Linked DNA regions of Homo sapiens: regions 1, 2, 3, 4, 5 and 6 are each linked to region 7. Evidence: promoter capture Hi-C in human tissues and cell types (Jung and others, 2019). All regions are on one chromosome and are shown on one strand. The core of a region is centred on a gene start or on the middle of the fragment in contact, and the rest is flanking DNA. Distances in the headings are between cores, read along the strand shown.

Evidence for each region. Contacts are between HindIII fragments. The study calls those that stand out against the background at their distance.
Region 1: a contact is called between a fragment that was not itself captured here and the fragment with the promoter of HSPA8 in region 7, in 1 of the 25 tissues and cell types used here (adrenal gland).
Region 2: a contact is called between a fragment that was not itself captured here and the fragment with the promoter of HSPA8 in region 7, in 1 of the 25 tissues and cell types used here (thymus).
Region 3: a contact is called between a fragment that was not itself captured here and the fragment with the promoter of HSPA8 in region 7, in 1 of the 25 tissues and cell types used here (spleen).
Region 4: a contact is called between a fragment that was not itself captured here and the fragment with the promoter of HSPA8 in region 7, in 1 of the 25 tissues and cell types used here (dorsolateral prefrontal cortex).
Region 5: a contact is called between a fragment that was not itself captured here and the fragment with the promoter of HSPA8 in region 7, in 1 of the 25 tissues and cell types used here (mesendoderm cells).
Region 6: a contact is called between a fragment that was not itself captured here and the fragment with the promoter of HSPA8 in region 7, in 1 of the 25 tissues and cell types used here (dorsolateral prefrontal cortex).

The regions. Positions count from the first base shown.
Region 1 is chr11:123,474,676-123,477,375 of GRCh38, forward strand. The region is part of intron 1 of GRAMD1B (GRAM domain containing 1B); the gene reads left to right. Among named protein-coding and RNA genes, the nearest start is that of GRAMD1B, 46 kb to the left of the region's middle. The HindIII fragment of the contact is 3,578 bases long and covers 1-2,700 here.
Region 2 is chr11:123,322,432-123,325,131 of GRCh38, forward strand. No RefSeq gene overlaps it. Among named protein-coding and RNA genes, the nearest start is that of LINC02727, 9.0 kb to the left of the region's middle. The HindIII fragment of the contact is 4,223 bases long and covers 1-2,700 here.
Region 3 is chr11:122,562,571-122,565,270 of GRCh38, forward strand. No RefSeq gene overlaps it. Among named protein-coding and RNA genes, the nearest start is that of TRK-TTT2-1, 4.0 kb to the left of the region's middle. The HindIII fragment of the contact is 5,016 bases long and covers 1-2,700 here.
Region 4 is chr11:122,739,020-122,741,721 of GRCh38, forward strand. The region is part of intron 1 of UBASH3B (ubiquitin associated and SH3 domain containing B); the gene reads left to right. Among named protein-coding and RNA genes, the nearest start is that of UBASH3B, 85 kb to the left of the region's middle. The HindIII fragment of the contact is 4,619 bases long and covers 1-2,702 here.
Region 5 is chr11:123,513,603-123,516,302 of GRCh38, forward strand. The region is part of intron 2 of GRAMD1B (GRAM domain containing 1B); the gene reads left to right. Among named protein-coding and RNA genes, the nearest start is that of GRAMD1B, 85 kb to the left of the region's middle. The HindIII fragment of the contact is 9,471 bases long and covers 1-2,700 here.
Region 6 is chr11:122,759,328-122,762,027 of GRCh38, forward strand. The region is part of intron 1 of UBASH3B (ubiquitin associated and SH3 domain containing B); the gene reads left to right. Among named protein-coding and RNA genes, the nearest start is that of CRTAM, 78 kb to the right of the region's middle. The HindIII fragment of the contact is 6,956 bases long and covers 1-2,700 here.
Region 7 is chr11:123,060,731-123,063,430 of GRCh38, forward strand. It overlaps HSPA8 (heat shock protein family A (Hsp70) member 8), which reads right to left and starts at 1,406. Exons shown (of 9, transcript NM_006597.6): 1 at 1,334-1,406; 2 at 390-599; 3 at 1-68. The coding sequence starts at 594. LOC124902775 (a long non-coding RNA gene) reads left to right here and starts at 1,932. Exons shown (of 2, transcript XR_007062927.1): 1 at 1,932-2,700. RefSeq lists enhancers at 1,155-1,324, 1,885-2,154 and a silencer at 1,475-1,864. The HindIII fragment of the contact is 26,894 bases long and covers 1-2,700 here.

The sequences.
Region 1 (2,700 bases), core at 79-2,578, 410 kb after region 7:
TGCTATTTCTACTGTATCACTGCTTAAAATAATATATTTCCCCATTTTTATTAACAAAGACACAAAGACATCTATAACTGCCACTCAGAGCCTTTTGCAGCTTCTAATTAGCATGAGATAATTGATACTAACAGGAGAGATTGCCTCAGTTGCAGCCAGAAGTAAAGAGATGCAGTACATTAGTCTCTGCAGCCTGGGTGTGGGTAAATGTAGTTTCCATCAGGCTCTGGAAATACTGCATTACAGCCTACATGCCCCCATGACGGCTTGGGACCACCTGAATCTCTCAGAACCCCTTCTGGGCATAGGAAGCTATGACTCCTGTAGGGTTGCCTGGAAGAGAAAGAGCTGTTTCTCCCTAGGAAGCACCTACTCAGTAGAGGTTGCCATATTCCGTCTTTCTAGCAGTAAAGCCGTGCCTTTCAGAGGGCAGAAGGACGGCTTCCTGGTGGTTCGTGGGTTTAGTCTGTACTTTCTGCACGTGTCCTGGGTACAGGGAGGGAGGAAGGGAGATCACTGGAATCATGAGAATTTGCCCAGCCCGCATTGCAGAGCTTCCTGGTCAAAGCCTAGTGAATTTCTCCCTTGTGGAGCGTGCTTTGGCTCAGATTCCTGTGGATTTTTCCCAGTCCTTCCAGTGCTGCTGGTATTAATGTGACCTTCCAGGATAAGCTCCTGCACTAGCACGCTGGTCTTAAACAAAACCAGGATTCTGCTTCAGCTGGTTTCCCTCAGGAATATCCCAGAATTTTACCAAGAGCTTCCCATCTTATTTAGGAACATGGTCTAGTGTTCCAAAATTTAATTTATACAGTGAATTTTATCTGAAGCTTGAATGTACAGCAGGAGGGATTAAAGTCATCCTAGTTCCATATCTAGCTGTCTTGAGCGAATGGCAAGCAGTTGCTTATACAAATTCCCTTCCTTGCAGTGTTAAGCCATCTTTCAGTCATCCGGTGCCCAGGCAAGGACATTCCAAATCCTAGTTTAGAGTTTCTTTTTCAGGGTTTCCAACAGACAGTTTCATCTGTTAGTGCCCTCTGCTGGACTTTCTCCAAGTTCTTTTCAACCTCCTGAATCCCAGAGTGGACGCAGACTGGATGTCTTCTCCCACTAAGGCCTTGACTAATCTGGAGTGGAGGGAGGTGTGCTTTTTGACCTTGTAGCATGCTGCACTCCTTTATAAACACCTTGGCCTGGAGGTTGCTCTTTTCATGGTCTCCGAAGACTGGTAGGTTTATTTAGGGAGCAGCGTGAGTTGCCTGGGGTCCAGGTGGCCTATATCATTGAAAAAGGCTCATATAAGAGAAGAATTGAAAGGGTGTGTGTGAGAGGGTGAGGCAGTGTCTGAATCTCTGGAAATTCTGCTCAACAATATTATTTCATGGGATTGAGTGGAGGAGTGGTTGGCAGCAATTCATCCATTTAACTTCTTTTTTTTTTTTTTGAGACGGAGTCTCTGTTATCTAGGCTGGAGGGCAGTGGCACGATCTTGGCTCACTGCAACCTCCACCTCCCAGGTTCAAGTGATTCTCCTGCCTCAACTTCCCGAGTAGCTGGGATTATAGGCGTGCACCATCACACCTGGCTAATTTTTGTATTTTTAGTAGAGACAGGGTTTCACCATGTTGGCCAGGCTGGTCTCGAACTCCTTACTTCAGGTGATCTACCCGCCTCGGCTTCCTAAAGTGCTGGGATTACAGGCGTGAGCCACCGCACCCGGCCCATTTAACTTCTTTAAGACTGTTGAAAAACAAGCTCAAATAATGGGAGGAAATAGGGCCAGGCCTCTGCCGAGGGTACTGGAGGAGGAAAGATCCTGTATATACCCTATGCCTGTTGCCACCATGGATTTATCTAGAGTCCCTCCAGCTCGATGTTCACCTCTCTGATGTGTTCCCTGGAGCTTTCCAACAGAGGTGTCCACCAGCTACACCTTGTTCATTTTTCTGCTGTTGTTGCATCACAGTCCACGGTGAATATTTGTATGTCTTAGACTGGGAGCTCTTTGCTGGAGAGACCTTGTCCTGATCATCTTTACAGTACTGTCTCCTAGCACAGTGCTGGGTACATGAGAGTGGTAAACGGAATTGAACTAGAATGCCTTTTCTTCTCATTTCTGCATGTCTTGAGTCTATCCAGTTTTAAGTGGCAGCACAAAAATCTTGTTGTTAAGACAGAATTGTCTTACTGGTCCCAGAAGGACATGACATTTCTGCATTCTGTGTTCCCATAGCACTTAATACATAGTATTGAGAGTTATCATTTTTCTGCTTTTAAATATAGTTATTTATATTGAATCTTACTTTCCTGATTCTAAGCACTTTGAGAGCAGGATCCTTGTTTGATTCACGTCTTTCTTTTCCTATAACCCATAAAATGATGCCTTGCATATAGGATAATGGCACCTGGCATTTACATAGCAGTTAAAATGTGGCAGATGCTCTTTTTCATACTTCACATTTCTTTCTCTTTCTTTCTTTCCTCCTTCTTTCTTTCTTTTTCTCTTTCTTTCCCTCTCCCTTGCCTCCCCTCCCCCCTCCCCCTCCTCTCCCCCTCCCATCCTCTCCCCTTCTCCCCCTTCCTTCCCTTCCCCCTCCCCTCTCCCTCCCCTCCCTTTCATTCTCCCTTCCCTCCCCTCTCCTCCCCTCCCCTCCCCTAGCACAGTGCTGGGTACTTGAGAGTGGTAAATGGAAAATG
Region 2 (2,700 bases), core at 167-2,666, 260 kb after region 7:
TCTTAAGCACTTTTCACTTATTCAACAAATATTTATTGAATGTCTACTATGTTCCAGGCACAGCTCCAGGGGTGGGCAATATACCAGTGAACAAAATAAAGTGAACTGTAAGTTGTGGCACATGCTTCCTTAGGAGCGTGATATCTACACATATAGATTAGAGTGAATAATACAAGACAAGTGACCAAGATGTTTTTGTTCTCATGGGATGTAAAAATGCTCAGTTAGCTTCTAAAGACTAAAAACATTGGAAAAAATAGGAGATAATTATAGACTGCAATAACATGGGAGGGCTCCAAAGGGAGGAGGTGTTTAAGTCAGGTTCTTAGAAGATAAAAGGAATTGCCGGGCGTGGTGGCTCATGCCTGTAATCCCAGCACTTTGGGAGGCCGAGGCAGGCAGATCATGAGGTCAGAATATCAAGACCATCCTGGCTAACACGGTGAAACTCCTTCTCTAATAAAAAATACAAAAAATTAGCCGGGTGTGGTGGCAGGTGCCTGTAGTCCCAGCTACTCGGGAGGCTGAGGTGGGAGAATGGCGTGAACCCGGGAGGTGGAGCTTGCAGTGAGCCGAGATCGCGCCATTGCACTCCAGCCTGGGCGACAGAGCGAGACTCCGTCTCAAAAAAAAAAATAAATAAATAAATAAATAAAAAGAAGATAAAAGGAATTAAGGTGGGCAAGGGGAAGAGCATTTCAGAAAGGAGAACAGCATAATGGCATGCACAGAATTGGTGATCCATGGGCATATGTTTGAGATATATTGGTAAAACCAGACTGACTCAGTGATGAGTGTACATTAGAGTGGAATATAAAATGAGGTTGAATGAATCCAGTAGGAAAAGATGAGAAAAAGTCCTAAAATCAAGCAAGGGTACTTAGATGTGATTCAGTAACAGAGAGGAAGACATTGAATGCACAGGAGATGTTGTGGAGAGCACAGATATTAGCTATAGTTTTAAGTCATTCAAGCTTGAGAGTCTGTGTTTCTCAACTCACATTCAAATCCTCAAATCAGAAATAGGAAGAACCATATCAGGACTGTACTGGGCTCTCCCCACAAGGTGGATGCTCTGAGTGTAGGGATATCAGGTTCATAATGAAAATAGAGCCCTTGTTCTCGCTAATGAAGTGTGTTTGGGATTTTGTTTTATTGTTTTTTTGATAGGGACCAATTTTTTTTTATAGCCAATGAGAGAAAAGTAAGGAAGAAAGGAAACTTATAATGTGGTTCTAAGTGGTTTTACCACATATTTGATTAGGTCCCTAGGGGAAAGATAAACGTTTAATTGAATAATTTAAGAAGGTGAACACGCAGAAAGGAGACTCCTTAACTACTGATTAGAAAGCATATCTGAGCTGGAAAGTATCCTCTTTGACTTAAGTGGTGTGATAAGTGCCATTATTATGGGAAAATTCACACTATTTCAGAGTCTACAACTGTAATACGACTGTGGCTTGCCTAACACTTCTCATTTTCAAAGACATTAAATTCTTGAGTGCCTATTACCAAATGTGTAATATCTCCACACTGCCATTCCCATACCAGCCAAAACACAATGCAGCAGAAGGACTCACTGTGTAGAAAAGTTGTCAAGAAGCCACTCTGGGTGAACAACGCCTACCAATATCTCCCACTTTTTCACCATCCACTTGTTTCTTAACTCTCTGCAGCTGGACTAAAATTCCCTTCTCAAAGGTTACCAATTACTTTCTAATCGCTAAATCCAGCAACTTTTCCATTTGTCTGATCTCAGTAGCATTCTATAGCACCATCTTCTTAAAACCGCATGTTTATTTGGCTCTGGGGTTGTTTCATGCTTCTGAAGTTCCCACTACTTCTCTTCTCTACACGTTGTAAAGACGAAACTACTACATCCCACCATTATCCCCTGTTCTTTATTCAGCTCTTTATTCAGCTCAGATCTCATTCACTGTGTACGTCAGCCAACACACCTGTGTAGATGATTCCTGAGTTAACGAGTGTCTTCTTTGTTTCTGGCCCCTTTGCATCCTAATGCATACCTCATATATAGTTGGTGCCAAAAGACGTAATGAATTCCCATGTCCACATACGCAACATGAATTTCTCTTTATTTCAGACCTCCAACTCTCATTGCTCATTTGAACCTGGATCTTTCCAACCCCCAAATTTCTATACTCAAATGAATCACATTTAATACATTTAACTGTCTTGTAGTTACTTTCCAGCAAGGAGAAAAATCATGTGTCTCCTTTTCTGACTTGCTTATTTCTTTTATCCATACTCGGAGCCTTAATTCATGTTTGACTAACTTGACACTACCCCAGTCCCACCCCTGGCACCTATAGCCAATGTCCTAGGTCTATAGATTTTCCTCTAACTCCTTTTCCTTCTTTTCTATTCTTCCCTTGCTGTTTATCACTGCCCTAATTCAAGACTTTATCAGGCTGGAATGATAATTACTAGTTTTCTAAGAGGTATTCTACTTAGAAGCATAATTAAATGAAGAAGAGTTTCTCCTGAGCTTCACTCTATCCTGCTTGCCATTGCCAGATTAATATTCCTAAAACACTTTTTTTGGTCATTTATCAGTCCAAATTCCCTAAGATTTTTAATGGTTCACATTGCCAGCAGAACCCAGTGCAAACACCTTGGCTAGTATTCTGAGCAACCAGTGTCTAGCTTTCAGTTTACTTCCCATTACACATTTCTGGA
Region 3 (2,700 bases), core at 120-2,619, 500 kb before region 7:
ACATTAAAAATATATTCCATTTAGGACTGGGAATAAATTCTCATACACTTTAAAGTTCCAGTCCTATGGTTGTTTTTGTGTGAATAACTAAAATGTATCACCAACATACAGTAATAATTCATTTTAACAATATATATTCCTCCAGAAAGTTTATAATTATTACATAAGCTCACAATATAATACAGCTCCGATATTTAGTTGGAATGCAACTTATTCAGGGGAATTTTACATATATTATAATTTTGTGCCTTTATCCTCCTTTCTTTATAAACATTCACTCTAAAGTATCAATTTCTTACTTAAAAACATTAGTTATAAATTTCTCCTCTTGAAATGATACCTGAAAATTGTATCAGTTCTTCTCACAGGTCAAATTATATAGAACCATAAACTCTGAAAAGTTTTGAGGCTCAGTAATATTTTCATTTTCACGTGGTAAAATATTCTGTTGTAGAAAGTAGGAAAATTTTCAGAAAAACATAGACAAAATCAAAGAAGGGGCATTTACATGGCTATTTAGAAATACTGACAGGAGAGGGTGAAGGATAAAAGAAGACATATTGGATCCAGTGTACACTGCTCAGGTGACAGGTGCACTAAAATTTCAGAAATCACCACTAAGAACTTATCCATGTAACCGAAAACCACCTGTGCCCCCAAAACTATGAAAATACTAAAAAATCAAAAAAGAAACGCTAAAAGGAGGAAATGATGATAACTCAGAACTAAAACTGGTTCACCAAGAGCATGACATGTCAGACTAACCTTGAGTTTTTCACTGACAGGGTCACTGAACTTCAACAGATTTTATCAAAGCATTTGACAATGACTTTCAATGGTATCATGTAGGAAATAAAATATGTTTATGAAAAAATAACTGAAGTGACATCAGAAAGATGGTTGACTAGAAATGTCTGGCACTAAGCAGTACTAAGAGGCAAGATTATAAAAAAAATGCCTACATCAATAAGCTAGAAAGGTTTCAAATAAACAACCTAATCATACACCTCAAAAAACTAGAAAAGGCTGAACGTGGTGCTTACGCCTGTCATCCCAGCACTTTGAGAGGCCTCCACACAAGAAAGGACTAAGACAATGAAGAAATTACTAAGATTTGACTGGAGTGTCGAAGGGAGCATGCTGAAGTGCAGTGGGGGAGTGGAGGCACACCTGTGGTGAGTGGAAGTCCAGGAGGGCAGCATGGAGGCACCCAGCCTCTGCAGTCCCATCACCCAGTACCAGATCAGATCTTTCCAGAGTCAGGAAGGACTTCCCATTGTGAGGAAAAGATAAGAGGAGATCCCCACCAGACCCCATTGACACTTTACCTGCAGTCCTTACAACAAAAGAATCCCAGAGTTCTCACAAGCCCTGACCCAGTTTTGAGAGCTGCCAGAATTCACACAGCTGAATTGCCACAGATTACCTCACCCACCCACTGTGAGCCAAGCCGCTGCAGCATGGCACCATCTTGAAGCTAGAGTCATTGCTGGAGTGTACCTGCTCGGGGGATCAGTAGCCACTGCACCACTCCAGCACTGGGGCTGAAATAAATTTCTTGAAATAAATGAAAATAGAAACAAGGCCGGGTGTGGTGGCTCATGCCTATAATACCAACACTTTGGGAGGCCAAGGTGGGCAGATCACCTGAGGTGAGGAGTTCGAGACCAGCCTGGCCAACATGACAAAACCCCATCTCTACTAAAAATACAAAACTTAGCTGGGTGTGGTGGGAGGTGCCTGTAATCCCATTTACTTGGGAGGCTGAAGTGAGAGAATTGCTTGAACCTGGGAGGTGGAGGTTGCAGTGAGCCAAGATAGGGCTATCGCAGTCCAGCCTGGGAGATAGAGTGAGACTTTGTCTCAAAAAAAAAAAAAAAAAAAAAAACCTCGAAAAGTAAGAACAAGCCAAACCCAAATTAGTAGAAGAAATGAAATAATAAATATAAGAGAAAACAATAAACAAAATTTACACTAAAAAAATACAAAAGACCAATTAAAGAAAAACCTACTTTTTAAAAAATAAAGAAAATCAACAAACTTCTTTCCAACATTTACTACAAAGCTATAGTAATCAAAACAGCATGATACTGACATAAAAAAGAAACATAGACCAACTGAACAGAATGGAGAATCCAGATATAAATCCAAACATTTATAGCCAACTCATCTTCAACAAAGACACTAATAACATACAATAAGAAAAGAACAGTTTTTTTCAATAAATGGTGCTGGCTCATATGTTCCTCACAGCACTATTCACAATAGCAATAACATGAAATCAACTCAGTGCCCATCAGTACTGGACTGGATAAAGAAAAAGTTGTACATATACAACATGGAATACTATCCAACCATAAGAAGCAATGAGATCATGTCCTTTGCAACAGCATGGATGGAGCTGGAGGACATTATATTAAGAGAAATAAGCCAGGCACGGAAAGACAAATATCACATGGTCTCACTCATATGTGGGACCTAAAAATGTAGCTCTTATAAAGATAGTAGATTGGTGGTTACCAGAGGCTGGGAAAAGTAGAGTAGTGGAGAAGATGAAGGGAAGAAAAAAGAATATAAATATAATTATTACCACTGAACTGTGTACTTAAAATGGTAAAAAAAAAAAATGGTAAATCTTATATGTACATTTTACCTCAATAAAAATTAAATTAAAAATAAATTTAAAATTTTAAAAGGCAC
Region 4 (2,702 bases), core at 172-2,671, 320 kb before region 7:
ACAAGGTCCCACTCTGTTGCTCAGGCTGGAGTGTGGTGGCACGATCACGGCTTACTGCAGCCTCAAATTACAGGGCTCAGGGATCCTCCTGCCTCAGCCTCCTGAGTAGCTGAGACTACAGCATGTGCCACCACACCCGGGTAATTTGTAAATTTTTTGTAGAGACAGGGTCTCACTACGATGCCCAGACTGAGGAGTGGAAAGTTTAACTCAACCTGTTTTAGAAAAATTATTCTAACAATAGAGAGAAGTATGGATTATAGAGGAGGAAGATTTAGAAAAGAGCTGTCCACAGTGTGTGGCTGGGGGAGGAATTTTAATAGAGAGCAAAAAAATCACTTGTAAGCATTTAACCTTGGCTAGGTCACTTAACCTCATCAAGACTCAATTTCTCCACTAATAAAATGGGAATAATAAGATTTCTCTCTGAGGTTCTTTTGGGCATTGCATTTTCTATCAAGTACCTACTATAGTGCTTGGCATACAGTATTCTTCTCACGCTCTATCCTCCTCCTGACAGCTCCATGCTGTTGGTGGGTATCCATGGTCGGGTATTGGAATGTCTTACTCTCCTCTGATTTTCAGGAGACATAAATTTTCTTCCTAACTTTGCAATACTGAAGGAAAAAACAGTCTTCTGAAAAGTTTCCTTCCAAGTGCAGGGCTAAATTTTCATCTCTGCTCACTCTCTGATTTGACAAATTGGCATAGCTCATTTGCTGTGTACCAAATTGTCTTGATGCAAGAGTTTTTACATTTGGGGCTGGGCAGTGGTTCAAAAGTATCACTTTCCCATTAAGCTTTATGGGATTTACCTACAAGATGGATAACACATCCTTCAGACAGATGGCACAGCCCTGAAGCCATTGCCTAATTTCTTCTTCAGTGTTCTCCTTTTATCCTGTCTTCTATGATAGCTGATTTCCTTACATTCATGTCCACCCAGAAATAACTAGTTTCTAGAAAAGCTGTAATATGGATTGTATTTCTGTAAAGCCATATGTTCCATACGTCCTGACATCCTCGCAGATGCCATTTGATTCCATTTTGTCATATTCATTTAATAAATATTGAGTGTCTGCTTGGTGCCTGGCATCTGCAGTGCAAAGAGGAATAATATTCAGTTCTACACGCTGAAGGATCCCATATTTTGTGGCAAAGCAAGATCTAAAGACATAATTTAAGTAGACTGTGAATAGGTTAATTTGGAGCTACTAACTGGCTATCATGCAGGTGGGAATTGGGAGGTCACAAGAAACTTTCAGCAAATCTGGCATTTGAACTGCACCTTGAATTGTGAACTGAATCTTCCCAGGTGAAGAAAAGGGGATGGGCTTTCCTGACATGTTTCCTGATGAAAGAGCATGTACTTGAAAGAGAATGGCTGGCTCTGTAAAGGGTGAACCGTGTGTTGTCCCAGGATTAGGATGCCAGCAGCTGTTTACTGAAAGCACAATATGTGTTGTGTGCATGGTGCTAAGTACTTGTTTTATTTCACTTGATGCACACGGCAACCATATGAGGCAGTCCTATTATTATTCCCATTGTACATGGGATATCACTGATGCTTAGAGAGGTTGGATAACTTGCCCATAACAGAGTGATAAGCTATAATTTGAATATAAACCATCCTGTACACTCCTGAGTCTGTACTTGCAAGCGACCCTGCCATACCAGATGTGTGCAGGCCATCTGTGTACATGTGTGTGGGGCAAGGGGGCAAGCTGAAGGCAGAAAGGTCAGTTGAGGCCAGCTTTGAGATACTGAACACCAAGATAGAGGTTGTTGTAGACAAACATCTCTGCATGTTCATTTTTTATAAAAATTCACTATATTACTTTTAAAGTGAAACAGAACCCACTCTTTAGAGCATTTTTTAGCAAAAGTCCTGCTTTAGTGGGACATAATGTGTACATAAAATGGGGACTGAGGTTAGTAATCTAATTAAAAACAAATCGTTCGCAGGGATTTTGATTCCTTCTTACTTCAAAGCGCATATTAACATATAAATGAATTCTGTCCTCAAGGTAAGCCCCAATTACGTAAAAGTATTTCCAGGTTATTCGCTCTTTTCACCTTAAAAATGACAAAGTTTATTTTTTATATAAAAATTGAGGAATTCAGAACTTAACCTCTCAGCTAGTTTGAGGACTAAAGCTGTGATGTGATTCAGATTTTATAAGATCTTCACAGAATAAAATATTCAATTTACTCTCAGTTCATAGAATATTTTCATGTTCGGCTCTTTTCCTTCATAATGAATTTTAAAAATTTTCAATTGGATCTTAAATGAGATGTATCCCCGAAGTGTTTCAAACAGCAGAAACAAACCCAAACCCACAAAGACATAAATCAACAAAAATAGCACTCTTTGCATTGGCTGTTTACCAATAAATGAACATTCGGGTTCGTGTTAGAACTCAGTGAATGAGCAAAACCGGAGGTTGTGTTTGCTTCCTTTCAAGCCCGTCTCTTTAAGATCTAAGTCAGTTCACATAGTGGTCAGTGAACATCCCACTCCAGAGGAACTGCGTGAGTGATCGAATACTCCAAGCCTGAAATCCTCGCGGGTCTCCTGGTGGGAAGGCCGAGACATTTGCGTTATGAGGCCCCGTGATGCTTTGCTTGGGAGAGCACAGACCTGTAAGCAGCAAGGCATCCAGCTGCTCCTCTTCCCTCCCATAAGGCCCTCACGACAGCCA
Region 5 (2,700 bases), core at 32-2,531, 450 kb after region 7:
TTCCTTCCTTCCTTCCTTTCTTTCTTTCTTTCTTTCTTTCTTTTTCTTACCTTTCTTTCTTTCTTTCTTTTCTTCTTTCACAGGGTCTCTATTGCCTAGACTGGAGTGCAGTGGTGCGATCATGGCTCACTGCAACCTCAACTTTTTGGGCTCAAGTGATCCTCCTGCCTCAGCCTCCTGAGCAGGTGGGACTACAGGTGCATGCCACCACACTTGGCTAATTTTTTATTTTTTGTAGAAATGGAGTCTCACTATGTTGCCCAGGCTGGTCTCGAACTCCTGGGCTCAAGCAATTCTGCCACCTTGGCCTCCCACAGTGCTGGGATTATAGGCTTGAGCCACTGTGCTGGCAAGAGTTTTTGTCTTAACTTTGAGAAAAGAGGTTAGGGAGCATTAATTAACCCATTCATTCACCAGAGGGTTATTAAATGCTGACTGTATGCCAGTGGAGAGAGTTCAGTATGGAGAGTTTAGAGATGGGTAGTTCACAATCGCCGTGAAGAGTTGTTCATGGGTCCTCGGGGGAGACAGACAAGTAAACAAATTATGGCAACACAAGGTAATAGGTTCAAAATCAGGGACGCAAGAAGAATTACTTGACTGGGCAGTTCATAAAGGGCTTTGTAAAGAAGGTTACATTTGATCTGAGACCTGAAGTGTGGGTGGGAATTTATCAGGTGGACAAGAGAGGAAAGATGATGTGGCTGTGATTTAGAGTTGGACATATCTAGGTTCAAATGCTGACCCTGTTGCTTTCTGGCTCTGTGAACTTGAGTGGGTTATCTTGGCCTTCCCTGGTCTCAGTTTCCTCGTTTGTCCATGAGTTCACCATCAATACGCTGGGATTGTCATGAGGATTAAATGCAATGTCTTAGGATTAATGCCTGGCACACTGCAGATAGTCACTGAATGGTGGCTGTGGGTGCAGAGATCTGTTAGAGAATAGTGGGCCCAGGATGGACATGGCAGGGCCCAGGGCACGACAAGTAGCTTGGCAGGACTGGTGCTTAGGATGCATGTGGAAGACAAGAGGCAAATGTGAAAACCAGAAACAGAAGCAGGGAGCTGAAGCGCTGTGAAAGCCCGTGCAGTGCTGAGACTGCATAGACACTGCGAACAGCTGAAGGACTTCGAGGTACCATCAGGTTTGCTTTTGAGAAAGTACTCTGGCTCCAAGGTAGACAAGTAAGATAATTGCCTCATTTTGCTCCATCTCTGATAACTTTATTATTACTATTATTTTTACATCTATCTCTCCCCACTAGACTGTGAGCTCCTTGAGGGCAGGGATTGTGTGTTTTGTTTCTTAATTCACAGAAACCCTGGCACTTAGCATTTTACTTGGCAGGTGATAGATGCTCAATAAATATTTGGTGAATGAACAAATAGGAGAGGGTAACTGCAACTGCAAACCTAAAGGTAAGAATTGAAAGGCAGGTGAACGTTGACAGCAAGAAGCACACTCTAGTCATATTTCAGGTGCTAGAACTGACACGACGTAGTTCCTAATTAAATGGGAGATGGAGGAGTCTAGGGTGAATCGTTGGTTTCTGACTGGGTCACTTGGTAGCTGGTGGTGTGATTTGAGATTGATACAAGACGTCAGAGTTGGGAGGAGACAGTGGGACAGTGAGGAGTTCCCTTTATTCATACTGGCTCTGAACTGCCCGTGAGATATCTAGGTGAAGTTGTTCAGAAACAATGAGAAATTTGTGTCTGAGGTTAGGGAGTGGTACTGGTTGAGCATCCCAGATCTGAAAATCTGAAATTAGAAATGCTCCCAAACCTGAAACGTATTGAGTGCCAACATGCCGTTCAAAGGCAATACTCATTAGAGCATTTCAGACTTCAGATTTGACTATGTATCCTGCAAATATTCCAAAATCCAAAAAAATCAGATGCCCCGTCACAGCAGTTGAGAGGCAGAGGCTCTCCTTATAGGATGAGGTCTTAGAACGGAGAGCCTTCTTCATAGGGGAGTCTGAACTTCTGGATTTTGTGGAGAGATTGAAAAAAATTGGTGGACCAGCACAGAATTACCAGTTATTTATTTTACCTATGAAAGCTAGCAACTAAACTGAAACATAGAACTACCACCACTATGTATATGTATATTTAAAGAATATTTAAACACAAAATTTAAAAGGTCATGCTGTCAATATATTCAAACCTTTTTTTTTTTTGAGGCAGAGTCTTGCTCTGTCTCCCAGGCTGGAGTGCAGTGGCATGATCTCAGCTCATTGCAACTTCCGCCTCCGGGGCTCCAGCAATCCTCCTGCCTCAGCCTCCCATGTAGCTGGGACCACAGGTGGGCAACACCACGCCGGGCTAATTTTTGTATTTTTAGTAGAGACGAGGGTTTCACCATGTTGCCCAGTCTAGTCTCAAACACTAGAGCTCAAGTGATCTGCCCACCTCGGCCTCCCAAAGTGCCAAGATTACAGGTGTGAGCCCCCGCACCCAGCCAACATATTTAACCTTTTGGTGTTTACCACATTGTCCTAATTTTTCTCAATTCATTACCAATCCATGTAAAAACCCCATCATGGTACACGCCAGCACACAAGTGCCACTGGATCATCAAAGGTAGCTAGTGGCTTAGTGCATGGAAAAGCATTTACTGAATAGCGCTGGTCACAAAATGGATGGAAGCTGAACCCTTTGGTTTACTCATGATATGCCAGTCTCATGTCTGTTGTG
Region 6 (2,700 bases), core at 83-2,582, 300 kb before region 7:
TAGAGCAGTGGTCCCCAATCTTTTTGGCACCAGGAACCGGTTTTGTGGAAGACAGTTTTTCCACTGACCCGGGTGGTGGTGTGATGGTTTGGGGATGATTCAAGTGCATTACATTTATTGTGCACTTTATTCCTATTATTATTACATTGTAATATATAATGAAATAGTGATACAACCAACTCACCATAATGTAGAATGAGTGGGAGCCCTGAGCTTGTTTTCCTGAAACTAGGTGGGACCGTCTAGTTGGAGACCCCTGACTTAGTTGGGACCATCTGTGGGTGATGGGAGACAATGACAGACTATCAGGCATTAGATTCTCCTGAGGAGCCTGCAACCTAGATCCCTTGCACGTGCAGTTCACAGTAGGGTTTGTGCTCCTGTGAGAATCTAATGCTGCCACTGATCTGATAGGAGGCAGAGCTCAGGCAGTAATGCTCACTCGCCTGCCTGCCTGCTGTGCAGCCTGGCTCCTAACAGGCCACGTACCAGTACCCATCTGTGGCTCAGGGGTTGGAGACACCTGACTTAGATGTGTCTTATGTGTGTCATAATGGAATAGCACAAGTGATTCCATCACCTTTGCCATATAGAGGTAAGTCATAGGTCTCACCTACACTTGAGGGGAGGGAATTATACAAAGGAGTGAACACCAGAAGTTAGGATTACTAAGGTGTCACCAAGGGTCTGTCTGCCACACTGATATACATATACCTTTAACATCTTCAGGAAGTTCATATTTTTAAAATTTTAACACCTACTATGTGCCAGCTACTAGAGATGCAAAGAAAACAAGAAATGGTCTCTGCTTCAAGTAGCTCATGGTCTATTGCAAAGACAGATCTTTTAAATATAATTTGGAAGGTGCTATGATACAACCGCCTGGCTGGTAAGGGTGCCCAGACAGGTAGGGACCACTTCCTGGAGGAAATGAAATGCAAGTGAGTGTTAAAGGATAGGCAGGAGCTAGCCAGGTAACTGAGGGTGGAGTTAGCCTTGCAGGAAAAGGAACCAACAGAGAAAGTTTTTTTTTTTTTTGTTATTGTTCTTTGAGATGGAGTCTTGCTCTGTCACCCAGGCTAGAGTGCAGTGGCTCAACCTTGGCTCACTGCAACCTCCGCCTCCCGGGTTCAAGCAATTCTCCTGCCTCGGCCTCCCAAGTAGCTGGGATTACAGGCATGCACCACCGCACCTGGCTAATTTTTTTGTATTTTTAGTAGAGACGGGGTTTCACCAGGTTGGCTAGGCTGGTCTTGAACTCCTGACCTTGTGATCCACCCACCTTGGCCTCCCAAAATGCTGGGATTACAGGTGTGAGCCACTGCACCCAGCCCCAGAGAAAGGTTTTAAGTGTGAGAGAAGAACCAGGGAGCAGAATGTTTGAGGGTGAAACTGAAGAAGGAGACAGATGTGAGGCCATGGAGGACTCAGCATGCCATGCTAAGGAGTCTAAACATGTTTTTGGAGATGAAGAGTTTAAAAAGTAGGATGGGATGCCTTACGTTGAATCCTGGATGGCAGCAGTGTAAACTGGAAATCTCTTTTTGTCATACCATATTCCATACCTAACTATACTGGTCATCTCTTTATACCATGAACCCCAAGACCATCCAGTTGTTTCTCTACCCTGGATTTCGGTCTCCCTGGATAACTGATAACTCTGGAAATAATGACCAGCAGGATGGGTTTGACTGCGCAGGAGTTTTTGCCATGACGGTATTTCCTTTGGTAGAATCTGACCTATAGTCTGGTTTGGAGGAGTTTCAAATCTTCACGAGAGTGTCAGTTGGCAGGGCCGAGGTGGCAGAGGAGGGTTTCTCTTAAGTGGCATCTCCCCACTCTCCTTGGAAGGTCTTCTCAAGAGTCTCATGATACTAACCCATCCTCCTGGTAGAAAGGCCTCAGCTTAGTTATCCAAGTCCGTGACTTCTTTGTGTTTACTCACATATTCTTTACCCCCATCTCTACCAACAACCAAAAATAAAAATAAAAAAATAGCCTGCCATGGTGGCACACACCTGTAGTCCTAGCTACACAGGAGGCTGACACAGGAGGATCACTTGAGGCCAGGAGGTCGAGGCTGCAGTGAGCTGTGATTATACTGATGCACTTCAGCCTGGGTGAGAGTGAGACACCAACTCCAAAAAATAAAACATAAATAAGTGTTGCTAACAAATTACTTACCAAGAAGAGTTACAGAAGAGTGACAGTGGCTCTGTCTGGTCTGCATACGTTTTCTCTGACCCACCAAAGCCGTTAGCCAGAGTCTCCTATGTAGCTTTGGGCTGAAACCGTTTCAGAAGGACTAAAAATTACCCAAGTTTAAGTATTTTTAGCTGATTCTAGTGGGTTAGAGAGAAAAGGGGGTGGAAATAAGAGAAAAAACAGCTAGTCTCTGTTGTCATCTGCAACCTGAAATCACTCTTCATTTTCATCTGTTTCTCCCAGATCCTTTTTTTTTTTTTTTTTTTTTTTTTTTTTTTGAGACAGGGTCTCACTCTGTTGCCAGGCTGGAGTACAGTGGCATGATCTCTGCTCACTGCAACCTCTGCCTCCCGGGTTAAAGCGATTCTCCTGCCTCAGCCTCCCGAGTAGCTGGGACTACAGGCATGCACCACCACGCCCAGCTAATTTTTGTATTTTTATTAGAGATGGAGTTTCACCATGTTGGCCAGGCTGGTCTCGAACTCCTGACCTCAA
Region 7 (2,700 bases), core at 156-2,655:
GGGCCAATGTTTCATATCAGACTGGACAACAGCATCATCAAATCTGCGTCCAATCAGACGTTTGGCATCTGTAAAAGGTGTCAAATGAAAACACTTTCAATTTCATAGCTCTTCTGATAAAACTCAAGTCCATGATTACTCAAATACCTAACAGTTCATAGGTAGGTGAATTCAACTACCATATAGGTAGCAAAGGTTCAAACTTCAACCTCCTACGTTATCCAGATTTCAGCCTGAAAGGTTTCTACAACCTGTTTTATAACAGACTTGATAACAAGTCTCTCAGCTCAGTTTTTCTAAAATCAAAAAGTTCCCTCCTCACGTTTCATAAACTTTTGTGCTTCCTAGCCCTGTTATATTTGTTCTGTCATTTAAAATTAGGAACTCACCAAAAACTGTGTTGGTGGGGTTCATTGCAACTTGATTCTTTGCGGCATCACCGATCAACCGTTCAGTGTCCGTAAAGGCGACATAGCTTGGAGTGGTTCGGTTTCCCTGATCATTGGCAATTATCTCGACTTTTCCGTGCTGGAAAACACCCACACAAGAGTAGGTGGTGCCAAGATCAATACCAACTGCAGGTCCCTTGGACATGGTTGCTGAAAAAAAGAAAAATCTGGTTTAAAAATTCAATTAATCAAAATATTTCCCTCATCCCTTAACAGAACACTTAACCAGGAAAAACGTATGGCCACTGCCAAGAGGTAATAGTGCCCATCACCTCCTGTCTAAGCACGCGCGAGGTCCAGAACTAGTGCTGCAGTCCAGGTTGCCGTGCCAACCGCAGCAGAGCACGCCCTAGATGAAGGACCCATCTACCCAGACGGCGTGGGGCGTTGCTCAACACGTGGTCTTACCCCGAACTGAGCACTGTCTGTTCCCCTCCCTCGCCAGGTGCCAGTGCCCCCGGGAGTCAACGGGCTTTTAACTACTCCGGAATGTACCCCCATACTGGAAGCACGCCAAGAACAGCTCTGAAGAACCACGGTGGGACTGGACTAAGCAGGGAACTGGGTGAAAGAAAACGCTGGCTCCACTTCCCCGCGCGCCAGGCAAACCGATGCAGCAACCCTCCCCCGCCACGCGGCCGCCGGGCGTCTCCCAGCCTCCCCTGGGGCCACTGCGGCCCACTCCCTACATTTCCGTCCTGCCGGCTGCAACCAAATACCGCTGCCATCCCACCGAAAACTGAGGCCCTTTAAGCCGGTAGAAGGAGCCGCACACTCGCCTCGACGAGATTCTCAGAACCCCCAAGCCTCAGCAAGCCCAACAGGCCTGTGTGGAGGCTGCACGCTCCCAGACCCACAACCCAACTCTTGAGCAGAGGTTTTACCTGGGGTGTAGGCCTGGCTCCAATAACGAAGGAAGCCACAAAAAACCCAAGAGCTGCAGGCGAGTTCAATGAGACCGGTTTCCGCCCGCCACCCTGCCTCTTATACCCTATCTTAGAACCTTCCAGAAGGGGCCCGCCCCTGCTGCCTGCCATTACGGCTTCCCCGGCCAATAGACGCCCGGCTGCCCTTACAAGACCCAATCACAAGCCCGGCTCCACTCCTCGGGCCTCGCCCCCTTCCGCACCCACCCCACCGCGCTCCGCCTCACGATAACGCACTCACCGCAGCGTTCTGGAACTTTCAAGCTCGCCCCCGCTCTCCGGACGGCCCCGGGGAAAGGGAGGGTGGGGCGCAGCGAGTCCGCGCGCGGGAGTCCTCAGTTACCCCGGGCGGGGGAGGGGAGCGTCCACCTCTACGCATGCGCCCCCAGCTTCCGCGGGAGGGAGGGGGCGGAAAAAGGAGGAGGAAGAGGGGCGGGCAAACTTGGAACTAACCAATGATAGCGGCGCTAGCCGGGATCTTGGCCGGCACAGAACTGGGGGCGGAATCGCGCGGGGCCTGAAGGGAGGGGTTTGGGCGCGGGAGCCGGGCAGGAGAAGACGGAAGTGGAGCGAGGACAAAATGGCTGCGAAGGTTGTTGCTCCCCTCCCCCACCCACGTCCGAATCCTCCTTTCCATGCCCCACCTTCGTGTTCCAGACGGGCCTCTAAGTGCCCCGGGTTTCGCGAATCTGTATTTCATAGCGTGGCTTTGGACAAGGGCTGACCCCGAGGGGCTGGGGCGAAGGTTCCGGCTTCAGGGTGCCACTAGGGCTGCTCGCTCACGGCCCCCCAGGATTGGGATTGGAGGGAGCCGCCAGGCCGCCGCGGGGTGGGGCGGGTTAGCTCGGCAGGCCTCCCAGCACCTGCATTTCCCTACGGCAACTGTCGGGAGGCAGCCCCCGACGCAGAGGTTTAAGGGGCCCGGCTTTTCAGAACCGCCTCAGGACGCGGTCGTGTCTGGATCCCTCCGCGGAAAAGAAGGCGAAACCGCTTCTCTGAGCCCTGACCGTTAGGCCCCTTCCCACCTCCGTCTAGAACAGATTCGGCTTCTTGGCTCAGTCCTTCCCCAACTAGCCCAAGCCCTACATTTCCCCGTTGTTTATAAAATAAACAGGTTTAAATGGTGGCGAGTGTGTTCTTGGTTAGGTGAACCAGGCATTAGGAATCATAGGTTCCAGTAGCCGTGCGTCCTTGATTTAGACTTTCTGAACGTTTGTATTTTCAGTAACATGAGGTGATATCTTTCCTGGTTTGACTTTCATCAAAAATTAAACGACAGACCATACCGACGCTTTGAAAACGTGACTGAGCTGGTGCACAAAACA